Linked DNA regions of Homo sapiens: regions 1, 2 and 4 are each linked to region 3. Evidence: promoter capture Hi-C in 16 types of primary human blood cells and fetal thymus (Javierre and others, 2016). All regions are on one chromosome and are shown on one strand. Each heading gives the region's core, a stretch centred on a gene start or on the middle of the fragment in contact. The rest is flanking DNA. Distances are from core to core; before and after follow the strand shown. Region 1 overlaps AHI1 (Abelson helper integration site 1). Region 2 overlaps AHI1 (Abelson helper integration site 1). Region 3 holds the start of HBS1L (HBS1 like translational GTPase). Region 4 overlaps AHI1 (Abelson helper integration site 1).

Evidence for each region. The method cuts DNA at HindIII sites, captures the fragments that hold promoters and counts their contacts. A CHiCAGO score of 5 or more calls a contact.
Region 1: a contact is called between a fragment that was not itself captured here and the fragment with the promoter of HBS1L in region 3, in 1 of 17 cell types (fetal thymus). The highest score is 5.7, in fetal thymus.
Region 2: a fragment that was not itself captured here is called in contact with the fragment with the promoter of HBS1L in region 3 in 1 of 17 cell types (erythroblasts); the score reaches 5.1 in erythroblasts.
Region 4: a fragment that was not itself captured here is called in contact with the fragment with the promoter of HBS1L in region 3 in 3 of 17 cell types (erythroblasts, total CD4 T cells and M2 macrophages); the score reaches 8.2 in erythroblasts.

Annotation. Positions count from the first base shown.
Region 1 is chr6:135,491,995-135,496,935 of GRCh38, reverse strand. It overlaps AHI1 (Abelson helper integration site 1), which reads left to right. Exons shown (of 29, transcript NM_001134831.2): 3 at 1,038-1,122; 4 at 4,645-4,708. The coding sequence starts at 4,699. Among named protein-coding and RNA genes, the nearest start is that of AHI1, 3.3 kb to the left of the region's middle. The HindIII fragment of the contact is 5,606 bases long and covers 1-4,941 here.
Region 2 is chr6:135,318,795-135,322,988 of GRCh38, reverse strand. All of the region lies in intron 25 of AHI1 (Abelson helper integration site 1), which reads left to right. Among named protein-coding and RNA genes, the nearest start is that of MIR548A2, 82 kb to the right of the region's middle. RefSeq lists an enhancer at 4-143. The HindIII fragment of the contact is 1,313 bases long and covers 834-2,146 here.
Region 3 is chr6:135,052,111-135,057,366 of GRCh38, reverse strand. HBS1L (HBS1 like translational GTPase) reads left to right here and starts at 2,545. Exons shown (of 18, transcript NM_006620.4): 1 at 2,545-2,718. The coding sequence starts at 2,676. It overlaps LOC124901405 (a long non-coding RNA gene), which reads right to left and starts at 2,474. Exons shown (of 2, transcript XR_007059775.1): 1 at 1,881-2,474. RefSeq lists an enhancer at 2,337-2,386. The HindIII fragment of the contact is 2,164 bases long and covers 1,844-4,007 here.
Region 4 is chr6:135,411,206-135,416,165 of GRCh38, reverse strand. AHI1 (Abelson helper integration site 1) reads left to right here. Exons shown (of 29, transcript NM_001134831.2): 21 at 4,622-4,818. Among named protein-coding and RNA genes, the nearest start is that of AHI1, 84 kb to the left of the region's middle. The HindIII fragment of the contact is 7,802 bases long and covers 1-4,960 here.

The DNA.
Region 1 (4,941 bases), core at 1,461-3,960, 440 kb before region 3:
TTCTTATGAGTACTCTGGGAAATTTTTTAAAGAATGCTTGAAAGAAATTCAAATACCAAAAGTGTTTTTAAACCATACCTAGAATCTTGTTTATGAGGAATAATATTTATGAAGTTAGAATCTTGTTTACTTATGAAGAATCTTGTTGATTTATTCATTGAATTTTGTATACAGGATTTTTGTTTGTCTTTTTTTCCCTTGCGATAACATTTGGTTAAGGAGCGAATTATCAAGCCTCTCAGTTTTTTCTCCCAATGATATTGAGCCACATATTGGCTGATAATCAGGTTGTCTGTAAAATAAAATGAGATGAAATGTAATCCATTTAATTTTCCTGTGTAATATCTCTTAGACGCTCCTGTGAAAGGGTTTGTGAGGGAGAAGTTGTAAAATAATGGAATATATAAGAATCAGAGGTGTCTTTTAAAGTCCTATCTGATTTTTTGCAGAGGTTACTAATCAAATATTAGCCGTTAATTCTATCATGTTTGCTGTAGTACATATTAAGATTTAGAGATGGCTGAGCGCAGTGGGTCACGCCTGTAATCCTAGCACTTTGGGAGGCTAAAGTGGGTGGATCACTTGAGGTCAGGAGTTCAGTATCAGCCTGGCCAATGTTGGTGAAACCCCATCTCTACTAAAAATACAAAAATTAGCTGGGTGTGATGGCCCACACCTGTAGTCCCAGCTACCAGGGAGGCTGAGGCAGGTGAATTGCTTGAACCCAGGAGGCGGAGGCAGCAGTGAGCTGAGATTGTGCCACTGCACTCCAACCTGGGCAACAGAGCGAGACTCTGTCTCCAAAAAAAAAAAATTAGAGATGATTTCTGTACTGTATTTGCTGTGTTATCATTACATAATATTAGTATTTATTAGTTTAGTTGTGTATTAAGCTGTTAATAGTAAATAAGTATATGATTTATATATTTTATTTGTAATTATTTACTTATTTTTAATACAATAATAATGGACATAAAGTAATTTTATTGCAATGTACTGATTACTTTGCTTTTTGGTATTTTCTCTTCTCCTTACAGTACTAAAATAGGTGCCATTTTAAATTCCCAGACAAGGAAAAACCAAGGATTAGAAATTAAGTAGCTTGCCCAAGGCCACACATCAGTAAGTGGTGACACTAGAGCTCAAGCCTGAGTCTTTTTTACTCGCTTTGCTTTTGCTTCTCTTCACTTCGCTTCTCTCTTCTTCTCCTCTCTTTTCTTTCATAGTGGCAGATACATAACTATAAGAGAGCATTGGCTTGGTCCTCCAAAGCTAGCAGTTTGGTGGGAGTTACAGAACATTTTACCAGGGTGAAAATTCAAGGTTGAGGTAGAGGGAGCTACAAAGATTAAGGCACCCTGGAAGCACAGAAGAGAAGTTCTTAAATGCCCTTCAAGGTGAGAATGCTCTCTAGAGAAGATATCATTTGCCTTTAAAGGATAGTGAGGAGTTTGTTAGAGAGACAAAGGAGGAAGCACATTTTTCAGGGGAGGGGATATGTGTGTAATGATACAAAAGCAAGAGAGAACTTGGCACACGTGAAGGCCTGCAGGTAGTTTCACATGTCTGGAACACAGTGGATGTGTGAAGGGGACATTTCATAAATGGCCTTGGACCTCACTGGTAAGGACTTGATATTTTTTTCAATGTGCGATTGGGAGCTAGTGAAGAATTTTAAGCGAAGAAACGACACCATCACATTTGAATTTTAGAAAATTACACTAGTTGCTGTGTAGATGATGATTTTTTTTTTAAGGGAAAGGTGATAGCGGCGTGGAAACAATCTTAAAACAAAAAGCATAATCCTTCCACAGTGTTTTTGTCCCTCAGAGTTACTGTCTCATGTCACTGCCTTTGGGGGTGATGGGAAGACAGTTGGAAGAATTCTGTAAAGAATTGTCTACATGTCCCTTCTACAGGTGTCACCTTCCATTCATTCCTTAGCCCCAGCCTGCTAAGTTTCTGCCCCTCTATAAACAGCTTTGACACACGTGACTTCCTACTTGCAGATTCAGTGGACTTTCTTCAAAACCTCCAGCCCCTTTTGATGCCACACAGTATATAGGCAACATCTCCTTTAAAACTTGGGTTTGCTTCTGTAATGCTTCTATCTCCCAGTTTTTCACCTATCTCCCTGATTTTACTTTATATTGTAGGCTCACAGGATTCTCATTGGCTTTTTATTTTCTTGGAACTATCATATTTATAAATAACTCCCAAATCTTCAGCCTATTGTCTCCCTGCTGGATTAGTAGATTGCCTAACAAACATAATATGATTATATACGTAAACACACACACACGTGACAGTAATAACAGTTGTTGTTTTTGAAGGGCTTGCCATGTGCTAGGCATTGTGCCTAGTATTTTATTTGCATATTCTCATTTAATCTTTATAAAAACACTGTGAGTGATTTACTCTTATTATTGTGAAAGATTAGGAAGTTGATATCCATAGAGGTGAATCTGCTGGCAGATAGAACTGGTATTTGGATCCAAGGATCTGAAAATGGAGCTGATGCTTGTAGCTGCTCAGTGCCCTTCAGATACCCAACTCAACATGACCCATACTAAGCTCAGTGACTGCACCCTAACAACCTGTTACAGTTATAGCTAACATTTATTGTTGCTTCTTCTGTCTACGGTACTGTTCTAAATCATTTAACCCTTACAACAACCCTTTGAGTCGGCACTGGTAGGGTGTTTTTATAGATGAGGAAACAAAAGTCACGCAAGTGACTATGGAAACTAATTCTAGGACATGGATTTTAAACTACTGCCCTGTACTGCATTATATTACAGTGTAATGATACTACTAATCTACTTATTCTAGTTCTAGAAACATGGGAATTATCTCCGATTCTTTCTCCTGCCTCTTCATTAGTTATTTAATCTTTCTAAAATATTACCTCACTCCATCACCTGGAGCGCACTGGTGCAGTCTTGGCTCCCTGCAACCTCCACATTTCAGGTTCAAGCGATTTTCCTGCCTCAGCCTCCCCAGTAGCTGGGATTACAGGCACCCACCACCACGCCTGACTAAGTTTTGTATTTTTGGTAGAGATGGGGTTTTACCATGTTGGCCAGACAGGACACAAACTCCTGACCTCAAGTGATCCACCCGCCTTATCCTTCCCAAGTATTGGGATTACAGACATGAGCCACGGCGCCCAGCAGGCTTTTTTTTGATGAATCATAGTCATAATATAGGTCAGCTTTTTCCTGGCCTATTAGATGACCATCGAGTAGTATAAATATTAAATTTTTATTTGTTTTATGATTTTTCTACTTCCGTGCTCTCAGGTTTCAATTACTCATGCTGTCATTGCACTTGCCTTTGCAGCTTCTCTTTTCTAATTTAATATAGACTAGAAAGTAGAAGACTAGATTTATTAAATTTATAACTGCTAGAAGGAGTAAATACAGGCTCCTATCACTAAAGTATAGGAATTTTTACTCCATGGATTTAGTGATGTCTGTTTTGACTGGGTGCCACGTAGTTGTTGCCTAAGTTAACTGACATAGTTAGGTATGTTTACATAATCATTCCTTTCTTTTTAGAATTTCTTAGACATTTCTGCAAGAGGAACATGAATGTGGATGTCCAGGGAATTGGAGCATTAACCAATAATGCCTTGGGCCCAGTGTGGTGGCTCACGCCTGTAATCCCAACACTTTGGGAGGCTGAGTCGGGCAGATCATATGAGGTCAGGAGTTCAAGACCAGCCTGGCCAACATGATGAAACCCTGTCTCTACTAAAAATACAAAAATTAGCTGGGTGTGGTGGCGCACACCTGTAATCCCAGCCACTCGGGAGGCTGAGGCAGGAGAATCGCTTGAACCTGGGAGGCGGAGGTTGCAGTGAGCCGAGATCACACCACTGCACTCGACAAAGGGAGACTCCATCTCAAAAACAAACAAATCAATAATTCCTGAACCAGCTTTTTTTTTAACACTCTTCAGTTTTAGTCTCAAAAACATGCATATTACATTCTAAATGTTCTAATGTGAGAATATGTTCATTTTAGACATACACCGATTTTTTTAATAAAATGGGCAATTTAGTAATATACATACTGAGTTGAACCATGGTTTTGAGTAGTTCTGACACAGTAATACACATCCAGGTTTTATTAAAGAAAGATGGTGCAAATATTTGTACTATCCTTCTCTATTGTAGCAGAATTTTCAGTGGCAGACACAGAGGTATTTAAATTCACTGTGAGTGTGCTACCCACAAGCATGCTTTAATGTAATATTGAATGCTCTTAGGAAAGTCAATCCTGAGATGGAGTTTGGTTTCTTAAAAGTGCGTTGAAATGTTCATTAATGTATTAAAACACTTTAAAAAGTTTATTAACATACCACATTAGATGTGCACTGCCTTCAAAATGTTTTTTTTGTTTCAAATATATAAATACTTTATTCAGATATGATCTAGTTTGTTTCCCTTGATTTTAGAGCCCTAAACTGATTCAAATGTACCCAAGTCATTTGCATAAGATTGGGTTAAGGGAACATAGCTTTATTGGTATAAACTTAATGAAGTAGTGGACATACAATGGCATGATCTTGTGTGAAGAACGTTTTATAATTTTTATTTGGAAGTTCCATATTACAAATACATCTCCTTTGTTTCGATAGGATCCTGATTGAGTCAATGCTTTGCATTCTCAGTCCTCTGCATAAAGCTGAGAGATGCCTACAGGTAAGACTTCTATGAAATTTATGTATAAAATTTATATTTTATACATTTACTTTTAAGTTTGGTTTATTTTAAGGGATTCTTGAACAGATTAATGAATACAGTAGATGTCATTGACCAAATATACTACATTTAGAGATACTTATTGGTTTTGTATTCAGTTTTCTATTTAATATTGTGATTAAGGTTAGTATGTATTTAATGGATGGTAGTTTGGGACTCAGATGGACAAGGTA
Region 2 (4,194 bases), core at 241-2,740, 270 kb before region 3:
TTAGAAGCTGCTCCATTCTGAGATTGGAATGTTTGTTTCATGGACTTCTTATCCTCGGGGACCCTGCCCCTCTAGCTACCAGCTTTCTTATTCAACTCATTTGACCCTGCCACCTGCCTCATGCACAGTTCTGTCAGTTCTTCTCTAGCCACAGTGCCTCCTCAGCTGACTGGCATCTTAAGAGCTTCTAGTTCCCCAACTGCATTCTTTTACTTTGTATACCTCAGTCCTATCTGGTTACCTGTGAAAACAAAACTACAATAAGTTGTTTCATTCTCAAGTAAATTTAGCCCTCATTTATGGGGGAAAAAATGAGCCAGAGCTGAAAATATGTAAGCACAAAGTTGATAAATGACAATTATTTAAAAGTTATGTGCACGTGTTGACAAAGCCTAGAACTTACCATGTGATGTGACAAGACTGTATGAACCTTTCTTGTATTTTAATTTCTACTTCGTGTTTTAATAATGGTTTTTGTTCATTAAATAATAGCTTAAAATGAAAAAAAAAAGAGCTAGGGAAGAAAATCTAAATATGAGTTTCTGAAAGCTGTAGATTCACCACTAGGCCTTGAGAGGTGAAAACAGAACGAACGCAGAGAGCCTGAAAACAAAAATAATAATAACTTAAAACTGTCATTAAAGGGGAGAAGTACAGTAGTGCTTCTTGAGAAGAATGCATTCTATCCACAATTAACTTGATAGCATGCTAGGAAAAGCACAACACTCAGGGGTCAGGAAAACTGACTTCTAACCTCAGCTCAACATCTTACACTCATACGCCCCAGTTACCTTCTGTAAAATGAAGGAATTAAATGATATTATCTGTAAGCTTTTCTTCTGTAAGCACAAAAATTCTGGTTCTGATTCAAAATGTAGTATAGGCGGGCCAGGCACTGTGGCTCACGCCTGTAATCCCAGCACTTTGGGAGGCCGAGGCAGGCAGATCACTTTAGGTCAGGAGTTCGAGACCAGCCTGGCCAACATGGCAAAACCTTGTCTCTACTAACAATACAAAAAATGAGCCAGGCGTGGTGGTGGGCACCTATAATCCCAGCTACTTGGGAGGCTGAGGCGGGAGAATCGCGTGAACCCGGGAGGCAGAGGTTGCAGTGAGCCAAGATCGTGCCACTGCACTCCAGCCCAGCAACAGAGCAAAACTCTGTCTCAAAAAAAAGAAAAAAAAGTTGTAGTATAGGCAGCCTTGAAATTGAGAACAATCTGTGTTTTGAATATTTAAGTCTTTTGTTTCTGCAAAGAAATAATTATTATAAATAATAATTGGTTTTCAGGCTAGTCCATGAAACTGTTTAACCCAAAACTACGACTAAACAAAAATATTATTGATTCTAACCTAAGTTTTCAATTTTGACAGCCAAAGAGATGAAGGAATGGAAGAATTTCCTTCGTGATTACCGGATGCTGGGCTAAGCCTAGATAAAATTATCTGTCTTTGGCACCTTCCCACGACCTTGTCTTCAGCCAGGTCCTTCCCATTGCTCCCCTCCCCAGTCTCTCAAGTGCCCTAAGTCCCATTGCAGCTCCCTTCTTCAGTTTATCTGCCACAGTCAGCAGACTCCTCCCCTAAAAAGTTCTATGTGTCTCAAAAATTGTACCACTTCTCACTCTCATAAAATTCTTAATGTCTTCTGTGTAGCTGTTTTAGTTACCTTCTTGTAAGTAGTGAATGACATATAACTTTTTTTTTCTTTCTTTCTTTTTTTTCTGAGACGGGGCCTCACTTTGTCACCCAGGCTAGAGTGCAGTGATGCAGTCACGGCTCACTAAAGCCTTGACCTCCCGGGCTCAAGCAGTCCTCCCATCTCAGCCTCCTGAGTAGCTGGAACTACAGGGGCATGCTACCATGCCCAGCTGATTTTGACACATAACTCTTAAACTCTGTTAGAGGTATATTTTTGTGTTTAGAAGAGGTTGTGTAATGGAAAAAACATAGGCCGTATGAAAGGAAGAAATTTTAGGGCAAGTTAATTCCCATGTAGGTATAAGACAGCATATAAGTTCCATAAGCTCAGCACTTCTAACTTCCAGATCATCTAAAATAGCCAAGTTCCTTCTTCTCATTGTTGGGTCTCCCACAGGGTCAACAGCTGAGGTTAAACAGGAGTAGCTTCTGTTTAAATCAAGCTTTTTAAATCAAGAGCTGCTGGCACAATGGTAGTCACTCTGGAGTATGCCTCATTTTAACGAAATATTACAATCCATTACTCTTTTCATGTACAAATGGAAATATTTTTTAAATTTTCTCCCTTGTGTATCTCTAGGCAGGGTGGGATTAAGTGCTTTAATTTGAGAATGTAGTTTACAAAAATAACCTCTTAGGCTTGCAGATCTTGAGAGGATATAGATATTTGAGCTACAGTGAATTAAAAAGCTAATGAGGCCAGATGCAGCAGCTCATACCTGTAATCCCAACACTTCAGGAGGCTGAAGAGGGAGGATCACTTGACGCCAAGAGTTTGAGACCAGCCTGGGCAATATAACAAGACTCCATCTCCACAAAAGATAAATTTTTTTTAAAAGCTAATAAAATTTGTTCTTCTTCCATGATGATCAAAGCCAGACCTCTGAAGCATATTGCAGTGATGAGTTGATGGCTACGTACAGAAATAAATTCTTTGTCTCAATGATGACCATCTTTCAACTGCCATAATTCCTTATTGTATCCCAGAATAATTTATGTTTTCTTTTGGCATCAGTCACTGCTTTAAAAAGCCTTGTATAGACCAGAACAAACAAAAAAAAAAAACTTAGAAAAATCTGCGACTGTAATGATTGAACTCTCACACTTCATTAGGGGTTATTTCCCTTTCCCTTTTATCCTTTTTTTACCTGAATTTAACAAAAAACTCAATTGCCCAGTTTTAACATTAGAGAAAAAAATGACTGTCAGTAGCATATTCTAGTCTAAAAATAGTAGGAAGAATTGTCCTTGATCTTTATCTGAAGCCAACTATGCAAAGTGAATTATCTAAGGGAGTATAAGAGCAGAATCTAAGGAAGTATACAAGCAGATACTCTAAGAGAGCCTGTCCTCTAAGAGAACAACACAATAAAAGAAGTTCGTACTCCCACTGTTACAAGGAACTTACTCTCTTTGTATCTTAAGGCACTGTAAAGAACAACATGATCAGCTTCCCCCATCACATCTAACACCCTCAAAATATGAGATAAACCCAATAATAAAATCACTCCACATACAAAGACAATTAGTATATCTCATAATCTTAGTTGTACAATTTTGATCAAGTATATCTCAGCAATTTCTTTCAGTTCAGAGATGTTCTTAACCAAAATATATTTTTGTTTTAACCCTTTAAAATTTGCACATAGCTCTTTAGATTCAATACCCTATGTAGATTCAATAGATTATATAGAATATTGGATTGTAAGAATCTTAAATTCAACACTGTATATAGATTCAATATCATATATAGTCCTAACTCCATGCTTATTGATTTCATATCGTCTTCCCAAATTATCATTTCCTTTTTTTTGAGACAGAGTCTCGCCCTGTCTCCCAGGCTGGAGTGCAGTGGCGCTGTCTTGGCTCACTGCAACCTCCACCTCTCAGGTTCAAACAATTCCCATGCCTCAGCCTCCCAAAGCTGGGACTACAGGTGCACGCCACCATGCCCAGCTAATTATTATATTTTTGGGTAGGGATGGGGTTTCACCATGTTGGCCAGGCTGGTCTCAAACTCTTGGCCTCAAGGGATCTGCCCACCTCGGCCTCCCAAAGTGTTGGCATGAGCCACCGCGCCCTGCCCCCAAATTAGTTTTTCTGCGTACCTCTGACTGGTAAAATCCTACCTAGTCTTCAGAGTCTGATACACCTACCACTTCTTCCATTAAGCATTTTCCATCCCCACATCAGAGTTTGTCTTTGTAATTATTTCACTTTCAAATAATGTCACATTTATTTTATGGTTACTTGTAAACATGTCTTTCTCTGACCAGACTGTAAGCTCCTTGCTAATGAAGACTATCTTTTGATGATCTCCATATGTTCTCCAACAGTTCCTAGCAGATATCCTGGCATTTAGCAGGTCCCTGGTAAATGTGTATTGAGATAAAATAAAATAAGCATCTGTCTGACCAGATAATAAGTGAAAATGACACCTTCTGCATTTCTGAAATCCAGATGATTAAAATTTTCCAATCATAGTTCTTTTGA
Region 3 (5,256 bases), core at 1,296-3,795:
AAAACTGGGACTGAAATCCAGGTTCGTGGTACTCCGAAGTCATAGTACTTTCCATCAAAACACAATACCAGAGTTTTATTCATTTATTTTTTGAGTCGGAGTTTTGCCCTTGTTGTCCAGGCTGGAGTGCAGTGGCACGATCTCAGCTCACTGCAACTCCTGCCTCCTGGGTTCAAGCGATTCTCCTGCCTCAGCCTCCCGAGTAGCTGGGATTACAGTCACCCACCACCACGCACAGCTAATTTTTTTTTATTTTTAGTGGAAGATGGGGGTTTCACCATGGTGGCCAGGCTGGTCTGGAACTCTTGACCTCAGGTGATCCACCCGCCTCAGCGTCCCAAAGTGCTGGGATTACAGGCGTGAGCCACGGTGCCCTGCCCACACCTTACAGAGTCCTGAGGGGAGTGGAACAATCCTAACTTTTTCTGAAGAAGTCAGTGAAGGCTTTGCCATTGAGGCTCTACTGTTTGAGATGCAGTAGATGCTGTGCAATATTTAGAGTTTTAAAGGAGTGCGTTATTGACGACCTAAGGGCAAATTATATATTATCTGACAGAAGTAACGTTTTCTTATTCATTGTTCCTGTAGTACTTTGCTTATGTGGTCTATAACTCATTCACTTCATACCTCAGTGAGTTGTAGTTAAGCTTGTAATTGACAATTACAGTGGAGTGGAAGCTGCCATTTGTATTTTAATAACACAATTTTTTTGGGGGGGTGCAGAGTCTCACTCTGTCTCCAGGCTGGAGTGCAGTGGCACAATCTTAGCTCACTGCAACCTCTGCCTCCCGGGTTCAAGCGATTCTCCTGCCTCAGCCTCCCGAGTAGCTAGGACTATAGGCACGCGCCACCATGCCTAGCTAATTTTTGTATTTTTAGTAGACAGGGAGTTTCACCATGTTGGCCAGAATGGTCTTGATCTCTTGACCTCATGATCCGCCTGCTTCAGCCTCCCAAAGTGTTGGGATCACAGGAGTCAGCCACCGCGCCCGGCCAATAACACAATATTTTTAAGCACCTACTATGATCTGTGATAAATCCTCTTATACGGATACATTATTCACAGCTCGCGAGTTAGTGTCTCTATCTCCTTTTTACAAAGAAACAGGCTGCAAAATAAAAATTACCTAAGGGTGTAAAATAATAAAAACACTTAAGCCATGTAACATTAGCAACTATCTCTATTTTTCTGTAAACTTTTATTTTGGAGCCACATTAAACAACTATTTTTGTAGTCAAACACATTCAAATGCATGAATAAATTACGTTCCAAGCCACTTACAAATATAAACTAAATTTGGATTACTCTTATTTCTTTCTATTGTGCATAGCAAAAAGCTGAGGAAGCTTTTAATTATCTCTAGAACTCAACATTTGCCTTTGATGTGAAGTATCATCATTTCAAAAACACAAGCTAAAACTGAAGTGGTGTTCAGTATAATGAGGTTGGTTTCTTATATAGCATTATTAACTTTATGTTCTGAGAAATGAGGACATTTAATAGCAGGTTATAGATTCATGCATCAACAACATTCAGCATTACCACCTAAGGCCAGTGCTATGTCTAAAAAGCTATATTTAATACTCGCAATGTTACACACAATTATGTCTTCAATGAATGTTCAGTGAATCCTTCTTTATGATGCTGATAAATATCGTCTATATAGCTAAAATCGTTTACATAGCTAAGGGCAAATCGCTGTTTACTAGGGATAGTAATGCCGAACGGAGTGAATACATGAAGTCGTAAATTATATGAATGCAGGGTGACCTAATATAGCCAGGGTCTCAATTTAATAATATATACCCGTTTAAAAATAGCCTTATTTCCTTCTCTAAAGCTTGGACTCTTTTTTTTTTTGAGATAAGGTCTCACTCACTTTGTCGCCCGGGCTGGAATGGAGAGGCCCGATCTCAGCTCACTGCAGCCTCGACCGCCTGGGCTCAGGGGATCCTCCCACCTCAGCCTCTTCAGTAGCTGGGACTACAGGTCTGCACCACAGGGCCGGCTAGTGTTTGTATTTTTTGTAGAGACGGAGCCTCGCTATGTTGCTCAGGCTGGTCTCGAACACCTGAGTTCAAGCGATCCGCCCTCCTAGGCTTCCCAAAGTGCTGGGATTACAGGAAGGAGCCACCGCACCGGCCTGGGCTAAATCTGATTCCAAGTTTACACAAGTTTGTTGAATGCCCACTGTGTGCTTAATGAAAGATCAAAGTTTGATAAAACAAGGTCCCTGCTCTTACTGAGCGCATAGCTTTCTCAGATTATCAGGAACCAAATTTGGAAAATAATCCAGAACGCTGGCGTAGGTAGCTCAAGGTTCCCCGCTTGCAACATTTAGTCCAAACCAGTCAATTCTAGGCGGCGGATTTCCCCATCCCCCTCCGTCGCCCAACCTTTGGGTGGGGCCACTCCCAAACGCTCCCTCCCCTCGTCCCGCCATGCACAGCAGTGCGCATGCGCCCTCAGGGAGGCGGACAGTGACCCTGAGGCATTGCCGTCGCGCGGTGCACAGCTAAGACGTCGCGCTTGCGCAGGCGCTCGGCGCAGAGGCCTGCGGGAAGCCAAGATGGCGCATAGGGGTTCTCCAGGCTGCAGTTGGCGCCTTATCAGTATCTAAGCGGAGTGTTTTGGAAGGAGTTAAGGGGCTGTGGCAAACGCCCTCTCCGCCGTCATGGCCCGGCATCGGAATGTTCGAGGCTATAACTACGATGAAGGTAGGTGGCAGGGTCATGCCGGGACGTTCTTTTCCCGGCTACAGCTGGGATCCTAGCCCGTTGGCATCCACTTCAATCTGTGAGTTTCTCGTCAGTGTTGCCCTGTCGGGATTGGGAGAGCCCCAGTTGGGGAATATAACAGGCCTTCTAGTGCTTTCAAATGCCGTCGTTTTTAAGTCATGATTTCTGCCCTCTGGGGTTGATTTTATTTGGGGAGGGGGAGGTGCTGCATAGCGTCATATGGGTAGGATATTGGTGAGGTTGAGATCCGGTGATATTTAGGCACGTAAGCATTATCACCTCTTCCATTGTTTCCTCCCATGTTGGGCACTAACGTGCCTGCTTCTAGCTCCTCTCTCCCAGATCCCCTTTGAGAAATGTCCATGAAACGTTGCTTATTTGTAAAACACAGATTGACTTAATACATTCAACGGACGTGTACCTGTGTTAGATTTACATGGTAAACCTTTTGTGTATGTCCATACATACCTAGTGCAGAATCAGTTTGCGCTAATTTATTTTTCAACGAATTTCAAAGTGGAAACTTAGGAGACGGTAGAAAAGACACATGTTAAAAAGGCCCAAAGAATGAGTCGATCAGATGGATCTTGAAGTTTATACTTAGTTCTTGGCTGGTAATGCTTGATATAAATGTATTTTGAAATGTAAATAAACGGCAGTACTAGAGGAAAGAGTGTATAGGAAAGGACTTTTTGATATTAAAAAATGAAATAAAAATGTCTGTATGAATGTTCTGTAGGAGTTAACAGGAGTTAGAATTATTTTTAGGAGGAGCACATCCCTCTTCATGCAGTAGATAACTATAGGCATCACCAAGCATCACATAAACTAAAAATATAAACAAAAATGAACTAATGCAGGAGAAGAATAAAGAACTATGCTTTACGAAGTGCAGAACATGTAGTGCTTAATATGTTGGTGATTGTCATTGGCACCCCAGTAGATTATTATAGAACATCAGTATGCTTTAACTAGAGTGAGGGCAGCTAACACCCTGTTCTCCATTTGGAACCTGTGACCTCAGTCCGTCTAGAACATGTGAATTTTCTGGTGGTTACTTTAGAATGGAGGCCCTTTTAAATAAATATTGCAGTGGATGGTATTGCATGTGGACCATTGTCACCTAAGAAATGACTTTAGATTGAGAGAGATTTTTGCAAATATAAAGTACATGAATAGGCCTATTTATTATTCATTCATTTCTTTAATAGTTGTTTATCATTTCCTCAACCACCATTAAGTTAGTGCTTAGAGTACTGTTCTAAGCTTTGAGGACTGAAAGTAAGATATTTGAGGGTGGTCTAAAAGGAGAAGATTATACGAGTTACAGATTATTAGAGTATGAAAAATGCTACAAAAGGTACTGAGAAAACGCTATGGGAGGGATACACAGATGAGAACACTTAATTCAGAATGGATTGGGGGGAATTTAAGCAGGATTTCTACGTTAAGGAATGCTTCATGGAGGAGAGGTGGTTGGCCTCAGGGAGCACCTTGGCTTCTTGAGGTTAGGTTGTCATGTTGTCATGCTTCTTTGAAACAATTGGTGACATCATAACCAAGCTGTTCCTGTAACATTAAGGAGGTTCATCCCCTTTTCTTGTTTATAAAAGTTGTACTCATTAAGGTCCAGTTTATTTCTCTTCTTCCCAGTTAGGCTTTCTCTTGAATTCTCAGAATAATAATTTAAAAATTCTGTTAAGAAATATAACCTCATTAGAGAGAGTTTGTGTTCTAAAACCTACTGGTTCCGCTACTTAACTCCCACTTTGTTTTTCTCTGTAATTTATGTAATACTTTACATGACTGCCTCAGTCACTGATTTAAAAGTCTCAGGAAGGCAAAATCCATACTTTAAGTAGCTGGCACAATGTTCTTTACATGTGGTAAATATTTCATAATTTTGTTGATTGAGGAAACAAACTATGAAGATTGCAGGAAAGAATTCTCTTCATCTTTATATGTTGTGGCACTTTAGGGTCAACTTCAGCATTGACAAACTGACCTAGTAAAAAAGAGTTTTTTTTCTTTTTTTTTTTTTTTTAAGAGACAGGATCGCACTTTGTTGGTTGGCCAAGCTGGAGTGCGAGTGCAGTGGCATGATCATAGCTCTCTGTAACCTCCAACTCCTGGGCTCAAGCAATCCTCGTGCCTCAGCCTCCCGAGTAGCTAGGTCTACAGGCATGTGCCCCCATGCCCGGTTAATTTTTTATTTTAGTAGAGACAGCATCCGGCTGTGTTGCCCAAGCGAGATCCTCCCTCCTCGGCTTCCCAAAGTACTGGAATTACAGGTGTGAGCCACGATGCCTGGCCTATTGTTGTCTTCAATATCTAAAAATACTTTGTTTGTGAATGGCCCCTTGTTTATTTGCAAATAAATTTTTATTAACTTGGGATTGTGATCTAATAATTTATTTAATCATATATGTTTTTGCCCAATAGTAGCATTTATCTAATTTTTCTTTGCTGTAAGCATTTGGTCTCAGCCTTTGAGCATGCTGTTCCTGCTGCATGAAT
Region 4 (4,960 bases), core at 357-2,856, 360 kb before region 3:
TTTTGGTGAATGGCTTTATTGAGGTATAATTGACATATTATAAACTGAACTATTTAAATGTACTATCTGATAAGTTTGGGCATTTATAAACCTGGGAGACTATTGCCTCAATCAAGATAATGAACATATTTCATCCCCAAAAGTTACTTTGTGCCCTTTTGTGTTCTGTTCCTTCCTCACCCTTATCCCAGGCAACCACTATAAATTAGTTTGCATTTTCCAGAATTGTATATAAGTGAAACTGTATATACCATGTACTCTTTTTTTATCTGGCTCCTTTCACTTATAATTACTTTGATAAATCTGTGTTTTAGCATTTATCAGTAGTTTATTCTTTATATTGTTGGGTGTTGTTTAATTGTATGGCTATGCCACAGTTTGTTTATCCATTCACCTGTCAATGGACATTGGGGTTGTAACCAGGTTTTAGCTATTACAAATAAAGCTGCTCCAAATATTCACATACAAGTCTTTGTATGGACATATGCTTCATTTCTCTTTGACAAATTTCTAGGAGCAGAAGGGCTGGATCATATTGCAGATGTATGTTTGACTTCTTAAGAAGCTGCCAGACTATTTTTTAAAGTGATTGTGCCGTTTAACATTTAACATTCCCACCATTAGTATATCAGTGTACTTGCCAACTTTGAAATGGCCAATCTTGGCAATCATTAAAAAGTCAGGAAACAACAGGTGCTGGAGAGGATGTGGAGAAATAGGAACACTTTTACACTGTTGGTGGGACTGTAAACTAGTTCAACCATTGTGGAAGTCAGTGTGGCAATTCCTCAGGGATCTAGAACTAGAAATACCATTTGACACAGCCATCCCATTACTGGGTATATACCCAAAGGACTATAAATCATGCTGCTATAAAGACACATGCACACATATGTTTATTGCGGCACTATTCACAATAGGAAAGACTTGGAACCAACCCAAATGTCCAACAATGATAGACTGGATTAAGAAAATGTGGCACATATACACCATGGAATACTATGAAGCCATAAAAAATGATGAGTTCATGTTCTTTGTAGGGACATGGATGAGATTGGAAATCATTATTCTCAGCAAACTATCGCAAGGACAAAAAACCAAACACCACATGTTCTCACTCATAGATGGGAATTGAACAGTGAGAACACATGGACACAGGAAGGGGAACATCACACTCTGGGGCCTGTTGTGGGGTGGGGGGAGGGGGGAGGGATAGCATTAGGGATATACCTAATGCTAAATGACGAGTTAATGGGTGCAGCACACCAGCCTGGCACATGTATACATATGTAACTAACCTGTACATTGTGCACATGTACCCTAAAACTTAAAGTATAATAATAATAAAATAAAAATAAATAAAAAAATTTAAAAAAAGAAATGGCCAATCTTTTGAATATTAGCCATTCTAATATACATGCAGTGCTATTTTATTGTGGTTTTAATTTGCTTTTCCCTAATGACTAATGATACTGAGCACCTTTTTTTGCATGCTTATTTGTCATCCATATAGCTTCTTCAGTAAATTGTCTTTTCAAATCTTTTCTCCATTTTTTAAATTGTCCTATTTGTTTTCTGATTATTGAGTTTTGAGATTTCTTTGTGTTTTGTGTATACAAGTATTTTATCAGGCATATGATTTGCAGGTATTTCCCCCCAGTCTGGTTTGTTTTCTAATTGTCTTAACAGTTTAAAGAACAGAAGTTTGAGATTTTGATGAAGTTCAAATTATCAGCTTGTTCTTTTATGCATTTTAGTGTTGTGTCTAAGAAATCTTTGCCTAACCCAAGCTCACAAAGGTGTTCTCTGTTTTTTTCTAGAAGTCTTACAGCTTTGGGTTTTACATTTAGATCTGTGGTTCATTTTGAGTTACTTTTGTACATGTTGTAAAGTATGGATCAAAGTTCATTTTTTTCACATATGAATATCCAACTATTCTAACACCATTTGTTGGAAAAAACTGTCTTTTCTCCACTGAATGGCCTTTATACTTTGTCTATACACCCTGGGCACTCTATACTATTCTGTTGATCTGTTTATTTATCTTTATGCCAGTAGCAAACTGTGTGGATTACTGTAGCTTTATAGGATTTGAAGTCAGGTATTCTTTTCTTTTTCAAAGTTGTTTTGGCTGTTCTAGGTAATATTCATTTCCATGTCGATTTTAGAATTTATTTTACAATTTCTCCAAAAATAACCTGCTGGAATTTTGAGTGGGACTGCATTGAATCTACAGATCATTTGGGGAGAATTTACATCTTACCAATATTGAGTATGCCACCCCATGAACACAATGACAAATTGCTTTGTCAGTTTCTCTCAGCAGTATTTTTAGTTTTCAGTATACAGGTCTTTCACATCTTTCTCCTTTTTTTCCCCAAAGTATGTCACTTTTTTTATGCCATAGTAAATGGCATTTTTTTTTTTAATTTCAATTTTTGGTTCTTAATTGCTTGTATATAGACATATAGATGATTTTTGTGTTTTGATCTCAATCCTACAACATTGCTAAAGTCAATTCTAGTGCCTTATTTTTTTAGATTCCATTTAGAATTTTTACACAGATATGGAGCCAGGACCTCAGAGTGAGAACCTCCTTAAATTTTGCTGCCTGTGTGCCTCACTTGCCTTACTCCACTTTAGCTCTACCTAGACAATCATGTCTGCAAAGACAGTTTTTTTTTTTTCTTTTATACAGTTTGTCCATTTTTTGGTAGTTTCAAGCAGCAGAGTAAATCTAGTCCCTACTCCATTTTGGTCAGAAATGGAAGAACCCTATTACATCATTTCCTTTTTAATTTTTGTTGTGGTAGTTTATTTATATATTTAAGTCTTAAATATGATTTAAAAATCACATTAGCTCTGTCATCCAGTCTTCACTGGAATGCAGTGGCAGCCTCGACCTCCAGTCTCAAGCAATCCTCCCACCCACCTCAGCCTCCTCAGTAGCTGGAAACTACAGGCACATGGTACCCTGCCCGGTTAATTTTTCAATTTTTTATAGAGACAGGGTCTCATTATCTTGCCAGGGCTGGTCTCAAACTCCTAGGCTCAAGTGATCCTCCCACCTCAGCCTCCCAGAGTGCCAGGATTAAGGCATGAGACACTGTGCCTGGCAAGTTTTTTTATTTTAATGAAGACTCTTTAAATGTTCATGTTACAAAATCTGTTCATTGGTCCATAAGAATGTTGACAATTATTAACCTTTTCTGACTCATGTAATCCTTCGATGGATAACCTGATAAAAATTATGAATCTGCTTTCCAGAAATGCTTATATAAACACACTCACATTTCCATAGTAATTTCAGTAGTCCATAGACTCCCTGAAGGTTTATCCATTGATTCCATATTATGAATCCCTGTTTTGAGATTTATTTCTTTCATGTCATGTTTAGGAAGGCTTTCCATTTCAAGATTATGTAACTAAGGAAATACTTTTTTAAATGATGAGTTTATATATTTTTTCTCCTTTGTATATATAGACAGACATTTAATATTTTTCAAGTTCATGTGTTTTAAATGATCAAATGAGGTAATGTATGTGATAGCACCCCAAAAAATACAAAGTGCAGCACAGATGCTACCATGCTCATTATCATCATCATCATGATCAGTCATCATCAGAACATTCACCCTTTGAGCCATCTTCGTCACTCTAGAGAATTAAATCCAAAATAAGAATGATGTTAAGAAACAAAGTTAGCTATGAAAGTAATTATTCTTGCATGATCTATAAGGGAGAACAGAGAACACTATAAATAGAGTTATCTCTTGTTATCTATAGAGGACTGGTTCCAGAACCCCTGGGGATACCAAAAATCTATGGATGCTAAAGTCACTTACATAAAATGTCATAGTTTTTGCATATAATCTGTGGACATCTTCTCTCATACTTGGAATCATCTGTAGATTACTTACAATACCTAATATAGTATAAATGCTATGTAAATAGTTATCATACTGTATTTTTTATAGTATTGTTATTTTTTTCTGAATATTTTTTATCCATAGTTGGTTGAATTCATGGATAGGGAAGCCACAGATACAGTGGACCAACTGTATTCAGTATAAGAGAATGTGTAAAAAAAAAATTACGGTGCTTCATTAAATGAGATACTGTAAAACATTTAATAATTATAATTACGTCATTGTAGAAATGTAAGAAATACTTGCATTTAAATTGAGAAATGTTAAATTGTATTTACATTATGATATATAGAATGTGTGTGTAAAAATTAAGAAGGGTACAGAAATATGAAAATAGTTGTTTTAGAGAGGCTTGTGAATAAATATTATTTTAGCATTTCCCTTAATTCTGTTATGCCTTTGATTTTTTAGTATTATTTTTCTATATACATATATTTAAAGTTAGTCTCCCATCCCAGTTTACATGGCCTTCACAGCTCAATTATAATGCTGCCTGACATGAAATTCTATTTGCTTCCTTATGATTTTATAGCATTGAATAATTTCAAATTTTGCTAGTTATGGTGTCTTATTATTACCCAGTTTTTAAGATGTGTTATGCAGTTTCTGATTATTTGTTGAATGCTACAGTTTTAGGGCTTGATTATGCTTTTGCTATGATGATTTAACTAATTATGGATTCATTTCTTCAGTTGCCCAGCAGGAGGCTGAAATGTTCAAACGCTACAATGGAACATTTCCATTACCTGGAATACACCAAAGTCAAGATGCCCTATGTACCTGTCCAAAACTACCCCATCAAGGCTCTTTTCAGATTGATGAATTTGTCCACACTGAAAGTTCTTCAACGAAGATGCAGCTAGTAAAACAGAGGCTTGAAACTGTCACAGTAAGTTTATTTTATGCAGTTGAAACTTTAAAACTATTTCTATCCTGTTTTACATTGCCATGCCAATAAATATTCATTTAATGAAGTAAGTTAATTACTTAAAATTAGACCTTCCTATACTTTTATGGTTCCTTTCAGGTAC